Linked DNA regions of Homo sapiens: region 2 is linked to region 1. The links are contacts of gene promoters, found by promoter capture Hi-C in human tissues and cell types (Jung and others, 2019). All regions are on one chromosome and are shown on one strand. The core of a region is centred on a gene start or on the middle of the fragment in contact, and the rest is flanking DNA. Distances in the headings are between cores, read along the strand shown.

Region 1 (5,500 bases), core at 1,134-3,633:
CACGCAGCAGGGTGCCCACCCTAGCTCTGAGGAGCGACTAAGGGGGTGCCTGTTTATGGGGTGTGGACAGTGCTGGAGCTGAGCAGAGAACAGGTGAGGTAGCTACAAACGGGGGCCAGTTCATCACCCGAGGAATCTGAGAATTCTCAATTCGAACTTGGGCTTTCAGGCCATGATGAAGGTATATTTGTCAAGGTAGGAGAATAGAACATACTTAACAGGTGACTGGCGTGATTTGTAGCGTTTAAATATTTGAACATTTGGTGTGTGGGCTTCTGTTTGTGTGTTAAGCACAGGTCAGGGTGGTTTGCCTTAACATGTCCAAAACATAAAAGTAATAGTAATGCCAGCAGCTATCTTATTTTTATTTTTAGTTCTTCCTATGTGCTCTTCACACTGCAAGGTAGCGTAGATACAAAGATGCACAAAACACAGTTGCTGCACAGGCAGAGAGGCCCAAGAATATCACAATATCTACAGCAGCCATTTTTTTGAGCACTTACTAAGTCCTGCCGTGAAATGCTTTGTGGATAGTATCACAATTTATCCTCCAGTAACCTAAGGGGAGGTAGCATGCATATCCTCATTTTACAGAGGGGCACAGACACTTAGGCAGTGGGCTGGGTGTGGTAGCTCACGTCTGCAATCCCAGCACTTTGGGAGGTTGAGGTGGGAGGACTGCTTGAGGCCAGGAGTTCGAGACCAGTCTAGGTAACATACTGAGACCTCATCTCTATTAAAAATCAAAAAAAATTAGCCGGGCGCTACTCAGGAGGCTGAGGCGGGAGGACTGCTTGAGCCTGGGATGTTGAGGCTGCAGTGAGCTATGATGGCGTCACTGCACCCCAGCCTGGACGACAGAGCGAGACCCTGTCTCAGAAAAAAGAATGACAAAGTGACCAGCTCATGGTCACAAACCACTAAGAGGGGGAATAGGACACATCCAGAGGTGCGGGTGCAAAGCCCAGACTTACAACCTCAAGACTCTGGGACCCCAGGTGAGCCCCTTGGCTTCTCTGAGCCTCAGTTTCTTCATCTGTAAAATGGGGACAGTGAGTCCAACCTCATCTAGGAGGTGACCAGCACAGTGCCTGACCCAGCGGGTACTCAACTGGTCATTGGAAAGGGCAAGAGGAAAGGCCCTAGCATTTGGGGACCCCTCCCAGGAGTGCTGGAAGACCAAGGGCTGCTACCTGAACCTAACAGGAGACCCCACGGAGGGAACGGGAACGGCCAGCTGCCCACAGGATGCCGGGACCCCGGTGCCTGTCACCTTCCCTGTCCCTGCTGTCTGACCTCCTCTGTCCCCCTGGACCTGCTCAATGGTCTGGGGCCACACAGAGTGGGGTGCCAGGCCATGCCTCATAGAATGGGTGCGACCCTCCCCAAATTCTCCAAACGGCCTTGCCCGCTTGGGTGATGAGGGAAACGGAGCCTGAGTCGGGACTCAGACCCCCACTGATCTGCCTCTAGAATGCTGCAGGCCTGACGGGAGAGGGCCTGAGGCGCAGGGTGGCCCAAGCCTTCAGCCAGGAGCTCAGAGGGTCACAAGTCGGGGCCTCCAGCACCCAGGAAGCAGGACTCGCCTGCCTGGGCTGCAGGCTGGAGAGTGGGCAGACGTGGGCCGGGGGTCGGTTGGTGCCGGCGGGAGGTTCCAGCCCCTGTGGATGGAGATGGAGGCGACCCCCAGTCGGTGCGGGGAGTGGGGAGTTGAGCTCCCTCAGTGGGGGTGGTGGGGGCTACCTTGGGGTCAGGCTTCGGACTGAGGCTGGGGGAAGCTGTGGCGCCCGCATTATTTGCGGAGAGGAGCAGGAGGATGCTTGGGGGTTGGGGGTGCGGGTTCCCTGACACCGAATTCATTATTGGGAGATTCCTCTTCACAATCCCTCGACACCTCCCACGGGAACCCTGGGCCAGGAACGCCTGACAGCCTGGCGGGCCGGCTCCAGGGGCACTGGCGCCCGGGTCTCTCGGCGCCCGGTCCCCGCCCGCCCGCTGCCTCGGAACCGTCCCCCGCGGGTCCCGCAGCCTCTGGAAGCCTCTCTGGGCTCAGCCCCGCGCCGCCGCCGCGTCGGGGCTCCCAGTGCACCCCCGGCGGCCGCGTCCCCAGCCCGGCTAGCAGCCCCAGGCCGCCCGCGTCCGCAGAGGCCTGGCCTGAGCGCGCTGCGCGCACGTGGGGAGGGGGCGTCCCGGGGCGGGCGCGGGGAGGGCGGAGCCACGGGCCCGGGCGCGCGGCCGGCGCGGGCTGACGGAGGTCGGCGGCCCGGGAGCGGACCCCGGCGTCCGGGAGGCGGCGCCAGGTGCCGCGCCCCCGCCCCGCGCCCGCCGCGCGCCCCCGCCCCCGGGCCGCCCCCCGCCCGTGACGCGCTCCCCGCCCCCTCCGCGCCGGGAGCCCGAGCCCAAGCCGGAGCCCGAGGAGGGCGAAGGGGCGGCGGGCGGCGAGGAGGCGGCGGGGGAGGCGGCGGGGGAGGCGGCCGGTGCCGCGGGGCCGCCGCCGCCTCTGAGCCGCGCCGAGCTCACGAGCGCAGCCGCGTCGCTGCGGCCCCGGCCGCGCCATGGGGAAGGAGCAGGAGCTGGTGCAGGCGGTGAAGGCGGAGGACGTAGGGACCGCGCAGAGGCTGCTGCAGAGGCCGCGGCCCGGGAAGGCCAGTGAGTGCCGGGGGCGCGGGGCGCGGGTGGGAGCCCCGGGGGCCCCTCCCCGGCGCGGAGCCCCCCACCCGGCGCCGGGCGGGGAGGGGACGTTGTCGGGTCCCCGGGGGCGGGGCGGGGCCAGCAGCGCCCAGACCCTTGGTCCGTGCCCTCCACCCGCTGCCCCCAGCACTGGAGATGGGGCGGCCCCGAGAGCCGGCCGCCACCGTGAGCCCCGCAGCGGGCACCTGGCGGCACCCGCCTCCCGGGCCGCGGGCGTTCGCATCCCTCTCTCTCTACCTCTGTCCCCCTCCCTTCCCAGGCTGCGGGCTGACAGCTGGAGGTCTCTGCTGGGGCCTTCAAAGGGCGAGGCGGATGCCCCCCCCACCCACCACACGCACCGGGAAGACAGGGAGGGGGCCCCTGCGGCGAGGGGCGACCCGGGAGGTGACAGTCCCTAGCAGACCCCCTCCCGCCCCACGTTTAATAACACGCTTTGCAGGGAAGGTGGGGGCAGGACCACGCTGGGGGTGTGGCTGCCCTGGCATGGCCGGTGGGGTGCCATTTACTGATGGGAGAGCAGAGGCCCAAGGTCGCCCAGCCCAGGGCAGGCTGGACTCCAGGCAGGGCCGGCCTGGGCGCAAGGGCTTGGGGCCCTGCTCAGGCAGGCTCCAGCAGAGCCGGGTCTCCAGCTTCCCTGCTGGGAAAGGAGGCCATGAGGGAGTGGGGGACCACCACTGGCCATCCCCAGCTTGCCCTATGGCCGGCCCCAGGAAAGGGCTGGGAGCTTGGAGCCCTGGTCCCAGCACTCATCCTGGCTCAGCGCGTAGCCTCCCTGGGGGCCGCCGGAGATGGATGGATGGGCGTGTGGACCAGCCGCGTGTGCGGCTGCGCACGTATAGCCGTGTCAGTGTGTCAGGGCACCTGTGCGGGCACGGACAGGGCTCTGCAGGTCGGCACGTGGGGTCTGGGCGTCCTCCCTCCTCCCTCCACCCCCACAGACTGTAAGCCAGAGAGTCCCCCTCCCCTTCCTCCAGGGGGATGCCGAGAACTGGGACTGGCTTCTGGGAGATTGTTGGGGGCACCTAGGAGTCCCAGGAGGACCCCCTCCCCCGTACTTCACCAGCAGCCCATGACTGGCTAGCTCCTGTCCACTCTGTGCAGTAAGAGAGAGGGGGCACCGGTGCCTTGCAGGCTGGCCCCGAGCTGATTTCAGGTCCGGGGGCTCAGAAAGGGAGAGCTTGTGGGCAGAGGCAGCCTCAGCTGAGCCTGGAGAGCAGGTGTAGGGATTGAGGGAAGGCAAGGTAAAGGTTTCCACCTAGTGGCCGCATGACCTTGGACACAGACAACTCCAGCTCAGTGGACCTCAGTCTCCTCGTCTGTAGGATGGGATGTCAGCCTCACGGTGGGGTCCTAAGACCAGTGAGCCTGGGCACTTGCAGCCCAGGCATTCAGTAAGTGCTCAGTAAATGCCAGCAATGACCGCAGTCTTGGACGGCCCAGGGCCAGGGGCTGGGGAAGTGGGGGCTTCAGCTCTGGGGAGGTTCCTCCTCCCTTCTATTGTGGCCATTCTGGGGAGGTGTGGGGGCTTCCACTCTCACCTGGGTCTCTGCCTGTCTTGCCTGGCCTCTGGGACAGGAGAGACACCTGCCCTGGCCCCGGCTCCTGCTCTCTGACTCACAGGGGCGGGTGTAATAAATCAGAGGAGAAATCCCTCCATGAATTAGCTCCGTCGTCATGGCAACGCTGGCCTGCTTTGGAGTAAGATGTATTTTGATTCAGTAAAGTACAGCTGAGTTTGGGCCACGAGGTGGGGGGTGTCCAGCAGTATCCTCCAGGGCCCCGTGAGCCCAGGGCTGTCCCCATGAGCTTTGCTTCCATGGTCCCCTCTGGTTGCCCAGTCCCTTCCCTCCAGCCCCTGCTCCAGAGTCACCCCAGGCTCAGCCAGCCCCCGACTCGCCCTGCCCTGAAGGGAGCCTCCCGTGCCCGCACGCACACACTTAGCAGCTGTCCTTGAGGGGAAGAGGAGCCTGTTCTGGGGGAGATGCCGGTGCAGGGGCTGGCCTCCTGCTGGCCAGGAGGGACCCACTCTTCCCTCTGACCCGGACCCTATCCATGGAGGCCCCCTGTCCATGGAGGCAGGCCCAAGAATGCCGTGGAGGACACCCCTGAGCACCGAGGGCCAGCTCCCCATCCCCCTCTCACCTTCTAATAGCCCACTAGTAGCTCCCTTCTAGCCTGGGATATGGACTGGACCCCAGAGGTGGGGACAGGCTCAGGATAGCAGTGAGAGGGCTGGTCGGGGGTAAGGCCTTTACTGTCATAGAGTCACAGGGCTTAGGGACCTCGTGGAGAGGGAGGGGGGCTCCTGGACTTTCATCCTGGCCCCGGCCCCCTCCAGCCATGCTCTGCTCCTGCTTCATCCAGAGAACCCGTTTCCAGGTGAAAACAGCCCCCAGCCCCAGGCCCTTCTCAGTTCTGGGACCTTCCTGGGTACCCACTGTCCCCCCACAGGAATGGGGGTTAGTGTGTCCCAAGACCTCAAGTTGCTGCCATCCAATTTCAGCCAGTTTCCCCCTTGAGGAGACCATAAGTGGGGAGAGGGACGAGATGGCTTTAGTAAGGCACCCCTCCTCACATGGGGGTGGTCCCCTTCCTGAGGGAGACACCCTCCCCCACTGGCAGATGTTACTTTCTGGGCTTTGACCTCCAGCCTCTCCGAGATTTCAGCCCCTGAAGGTGTGGCTGGGTGAGAAGGTGGTTTCCACACTGGCTGCCTCAGCTGTGGGAGGGAGGACAGGGCCTGGCTTGGACAGTCCTGGGGACATGCTGAGGGCTGTCCACCCTGGAGCTGGGAAGAGTGGGGGTCAGC
Region 2 (5,599 bases), core at 771-3,270, 490 kb before region 1:
CCGCCTGCCTCGGCCTCCCAAAGTGCTGGGATTACAGACGTGAGCCACCGCGCCCACCTTTTTGTATTTTTAGTAGAGACCGGGCATCACCATATTGGCCCGGTTGGTTTTGAACGAGATCCACCTGCCTGGGCCTCCCAAAGTGTTGGGATTACAGGCATGAGCCACCGCGCCTGGCCCATAATTTTTAACAAAGTCTTAAGGAACAGTAAAGCAAAGGGATCAACCACCTTAACTGTGCTAAAGTTCATCAACTGGGAATCAAGTGCTCCAGTGCTGAATAGACAACCATTGCCTCAAAGAACCCAATGGACAAGAGCAATTTAAACTCTAATTTCATATACAAAACAGGAATGCTTGAGTAGAAAGGCAAGGGAGTGACCACTAAGCCCTGTTATTTAAAAAGAAAAACCAAACAGTAAAACATACACCCACACTTATAAAAGGAAAATCACAGCTAACAAACGCCTATTTCTATCCTGGGGATGACTGTCATTTCCTGGGAGGTCAATTCTCTGAGTAGAGGGCTTGGTCAAATGAGCAATGGAAACAGTTGGAAGTTGTGGGGAGGCACAGGAGGGTTGGCATCTCAAACCCTCATTTCCACCCACAAGGCTGCCTTAGCAGTAACTCCAGATTCTCACTTCCTGATCACGGTCATGCCATGCTGAGAATGGTCTCAGTCAGGCTTCTCAAACTTGAAGAGGGATCCGAACCTTTCTGGGAAGCCTCCTGCATGGCAAATGTTGGCTGCCAAGGCACAAAGCCAAGCGCAGTCATGTAAGCTCAACTGAAAGACCCCGCAAAGTTAGTATAAGGCTTGTGAACTGCCTTGAATAAATATAGGTAACAACTTCTTCAAACAGGCTTTTTTGTGAGTTTCAATCCTGCACAACTCCCAAGACACGGTTCCTCGGCTCCACAACTCTTGATAAATAAAGGTAGCAAAAGGTTTCTATTACCATCTACCCAACAGCATGAGCATTTCGCTTGATGAAAGACAAGCTGCAAACTAACCTGGAAATTCCTGTCCTTTTGCGAAGACAGTGGGAAAACTAAGCCAATTAGAAAGCAGATTGAAAGATTCCTTACCTGACCCTTCCTGGACATCCCTAAAGCAACCCTTAATATGAGCAAAATCCCCTTCGAAAAATCATACTATATACTACGGACGCATCTTCTAAGAGGTGCTGAGTGGGTGCTGCGTGCTGTGGATGGAAAGGATGGAGCGCCAACTCTCTAAATGCAAGTCACCAGGGAAAAAAAGGGCCGCCCATATCAACCCCCACGTCAGCGTTAATTCAAACGTCCAGAATGTGAAACAACGCCAAGGGTTCTGTTTCCAGAGCCAGCAAGTACCCTGGGACAGAGAAGAGAAGGCGTTCACACACCCTGGGCAAAAGAACCTAGTGAGAAAAAGAAAGTAGAATCACAGCAAAGTCCGGGGTCTAGGAAGCCTCCTCCACCAAAGAGCAAAGAGGGCGAGGAAGAGACACCCCCAAGGTGAATCGACTCAGGATCCTCAAAGGCAGTGGACGCCAGGGCGCCATCCTCACCCTCCCCTCCCAGGGTAGGGGATCGGGGCAAGCTGGGGAGGAGCTGGCGACAAGGGAGCGCGGGGCTCGAAGCCCGAGGAGAGTCGCCCGCTCCCGCTGAAGTCTCCTCCGCACGAAGCAGGGCGTGTGCAGGAGCCGCAGGCCGGGAAGGCCAGGACCCTCCGGGCTGGCCCGTGAGGCCCTCACCTTGTCTGAGTCCAGGTCGGGATCGGCCTGGCATAAGCGGTACAGGAAGGATTTCGGGTCCCGGCACAGGGTCTGCCGAGTGGTGAGGAAGTAGGTGCCGCCGACGTTGAGTCGGACCCACTTGGACACGCTGCCAGGGCGCTGGGCCAGGGCGCCGAGCCCAGCGCTGCAGCGGCGGCACAGGCCGCCCCCCAGCCCCGCCCCGATGCCGCCCCGGGCCGGCGACAGGAGCTCGCAGTGATTCTCCGCCATGATCCCAGCAAGCCCCGCAACAGCTCCCTTCCACCGGAAGCGTCCGGCTTTTAATAGCGTCCTCTGAGTTCTGTCCCGCCCACAGGTCCGCCCTGGTAGAGCGCCCGCCCCGGCGTCACGCGGTAGGCGGAAGTTCCGGTCCCGAAAAGCAGGAGGCTGGGCCCGCTTCCGGCGGGAGCGGAGCACGGGGTGATCTGGGCACTAACGCTGATGGGGAGCAGCGGACATCAGCCTCGACCTCCCACGAGCGGTGCACGAGCGCCTGACCCAGACCTCGACCCTAGCCTTCACCCCCACCCTGACTCCAGTTCATGAACTGGTCAAAGGAAGAGCCATGCCAGCAAACGTCTACACTGTACATGCTTTTTATTACAAGACTACGGAGCATAGGAGGAAAATTCATCATCTGGTAACTACACCTAAAGCACAAATATTTGGGGGGAAAAAAAGAACAGATTCATTAAATTATATGATTAAATCATTGACCCAATAGAAAATTTATATAATAAGGGCGGGGCCTGGTGGCTCACGCCTGTAATCCCAGCACTTTGGGAGGCCGAGGCGGGAGGATCAGGCGGTCAGGAGATCGAGACCACGCTGGCCAACATGGTGAGGCCCGGTCTCCACTGAAAATACAAAAATTAGCCTGGCGCGGTGGTGGGCGCCGGTAATCCAAGCTACTCGGGAGGCTGCGGCAGGAGAATGGCGTGAACCCGGGAGGCAGAGGTTGCAGTGAGCTGAGATCTCGCCACTGCACTCCAGCCTGGTGATAGGGCGAGAGTCTGTCTCAAAAAAAAAAAAAGAAAGTTTTTGTAATAAAGCCAGAAAAAAGTTGTAAAATATATAGTAATTATTCACATTCAAGGCTGTATATCAATACATATAACAACGTGGCCCCGAACATGAATTCAATACAAATAATTCATATATTAGAATTTAGGCCGGGCGCGGTGGCTCATGTCTGTAATCCCAACACTTTGGGAGGCCAAGGTGGGTGGATCACGAGGTCAGGAGTTCAACATCAGCCTGGCCAAGATGGTGAATCTCCGTCTCTACCAAAAATACAAAAAATTAGCCAGATGTGGTTGTGGGCGCTCGTAATCCCAGCTACTCGGAGGCTGAGGCAGAGAATTGCTTAAACCCAGGAGGCGGAGGTTGCAGTTAGCCGAGATCAGGCCACTGCACTCTAGCCTGGGCGACAGAGTGAGACTCCGTCTCAAGAAAAAAAAAGAATTTAAATAACAGGCTGAACTAGAGGCCAACAATAGCCAGCAAATAACCTTCTATAAGATTAAAAACACAAAAGTGTATATCCTAATACCATTGTATTATTTGTTTTCATGAGTTCTTTTAATTTTTGCTTTGTCTGTACATCACAGTTACAGCTACAGACCAGGTAGAGAATATTACGCATGTTCTGACTGCCACCCACCTGAAAGACGTACTAGTCATTTATCCTATTTCATGTTGTGAAGGAACAGCTACAGCAGCTCTAAATACTGTAACAATTTAATTTTGCCAACATCCAACTTAACAGTCGTAATAGAGGCTTTTACCAGCACAATGACCCCTATTCGTAGTCATTCTGCCAGACGGTTAGGCTATGTGGGTTACACAGCTTAAAAAAGGTCTGCCTTTTGTAAAAAGTTCTCTGTACATAGTTTGGTGTTTCTTCATATGGAAGAAATGAGTTATGGGGAAAATTCAGGTACACACGTAGGCTCGTTCAGTTGCTCACCACAGCCATCTCAACAGATGAAAGTGCTCTTTGTTGGAAACAGCTTCCTCCTCACACCAGTTCTCCACAGGCAGCCTCATCTACAACCCTGCAATTTTGGGCCAGAAGTGGTGGCCCCTCAGAGGCTCTGAAGTGCCTCCAGCCCCGATTCAGGCACTTGCCACGTGTGCTGCGTAAGAAGGGACCCCACCCAGTGAGTCAACATAGGCTCATGTCAAGTTTGAAAATAACTGGGGAAAAGTGTATGACAACATCTTCCAGAACATAGTACCTTCACCGTATTCTCACAGCAGCTGCGATCTCTGAAGTCTCAGCAGTGAGCACCCCGGGTCTGTCAACCAGCCAGGCAAGGGGGGGCCCTCAGGCTTCAGAGGGCAAGAAACCAAATTCCGTGCAATTTGGCCATAATCTCTGGTAGAGTGAAGCAGCACTGAACGCAGTGCCTAGAAAAACCTCCTGCACGTTCCCCTGCACAATCAATGGACCCCAACTACAGTGGAGAAATGAAGAATCCAACCAAATTTGGGTGGTCTGGACTTGCTGCCAGCCAGGCAATCTGCAACACTGTGGGCAGGGAGATGGGGGGAGGCGGCCTGAAATCTACACCAGCTGGGACAACCACGCCCTACAATGAAAAAGCCAGCCTGGCTGCTGGGCTCTTGTGAACCACTAAGACCTGAAGGTGGGGGGGTGGAAGGGGGAGACAAATGCACTCTTGTAAAACCCAATCAGCTACGTGGTTTTTTTCAAGTAGAGGCTTTGCTCTGCTACTGACTCCAAATGGCCTAATGTACTTTCTGAGTCTATAAACTTAATTACAGATCACTCACTAAGCATGTGGCAAGGTCAGTTCAACACTTGTTATCTCTGCTGACTGCGCAGTTGCAAATTCAATACCATTGTGGACATGAAGTACAAGATTCTGAAAATATCGCCAAGCGCTTGAAAGCCACGGCAGCAGGGAGGGCAGAGAGCTGACATGCAGGCAGAGCCAGGTTCTTGCAACCAAAACAAGGAAATTGGCTCTTGGAAAAAATCGGCCACAAATGGATTGCAGTAGTGACATCCTCTTAGCATTTAAATAAAGAGCGGTCTTATTCAGACATTCTTTGGAACACACGGCTTATCAGAAACCGATTTGTTCAGAATCTGTAAGACACAACTAAGGTGGTTCTGCTACTGGAACTGAGCGTCTACACATCAGGTCGAGAGAGAGACAGAAATATCTTCAAAATGAACAAACTCTTTCACCTCAAAATACCACTTCCAGGCATCTAAGGGGAAAAAAAGTAAGAAATCAGAAGATTTTAAAGATATTCATCACAGCATTATTTAAATAGTGGAAAAATCAGAAACCGTCAAGTATTTTACAGTAGGGAAATGGTCAGATAAATTATAGTAAATGGACAATGACTAAATAGTACAATTGTTAAAAACATGTTTCTGAGAAACTCATGACATGGGAAAATGCTTAAAATATCAAGGGAGAAGACGATGCAAACGGTGTGTGTCGGATGTTCCTATTTTAGTTTAAAAAGTGAACAAATGGCAGGGCAGGATATACGGCAAAATGCTCACAGTGGTCTTCTCTGGCCGGTGAGCCTACAGCTGATCTTGTCAGAGACAAACGTTAGTTTTACTGAGTCACCCAGAGCCCTGTGCTGGTGCCTGAGGGTTTGTTCCATGGGACAGTCTCCACAATTCCTCTGGGGAAGGGCCACAAATCCCACAGTGTGTCCCAAGAGGGCTGGAGTAGGCGGAGTCCCCAGCAGCTGTGGCATGACCAGCCATCTCTCTCAAAACAATTGTTAACAAGCCTTCTGCAAGTTAAGGTTCCACATGGTAGCCGTGGTACAGAGGCATTTCT

The links. Contacts are between HindIII fragments. The study calls those that stand out against the background at their distance.
Region 2: the fragment with the promoter of KCTD5 here is called in contact with the fragment with the promoter of CASKIN1 in region 1 in 1 of the 25 tissues and cell types used here (lymphoblastoid cells).

Annotation. Positions count from the first base shown.
Region 1 is chr16:2,193,488-2,198,987 of GRCh38, reverse strand. CASKIN1 (CASK interacting protein 1) reads left to right here and starts at 2,383. Exons shown (of 20, transcript NM_020764.4): 1 at 2,383-2,649. The coding sequence starts at 2,556. The HindIII fragment of the contact is 36,898 bases long and covers 1-5,500 here.
Region 2 is chr16:2,678,944-2,684,542 of GRCh38, reverse strand. It overlaps KCTD5 (potassium channel tetramerization domain containing 5), which reads right to left and starts at 2,020. Exons shown (of 6, transcript NM_018992.4): 1 at 1,743-2,020. The coding sequence starts at 1,994. RefSeq lists enhancers at 1,338-1,387, 1,458-1,507, 1,052-1,662 and a silencer at 1,758-1,937. The HindIII fragment of the contact is 14,940 bases long and covers 1-5,599 here.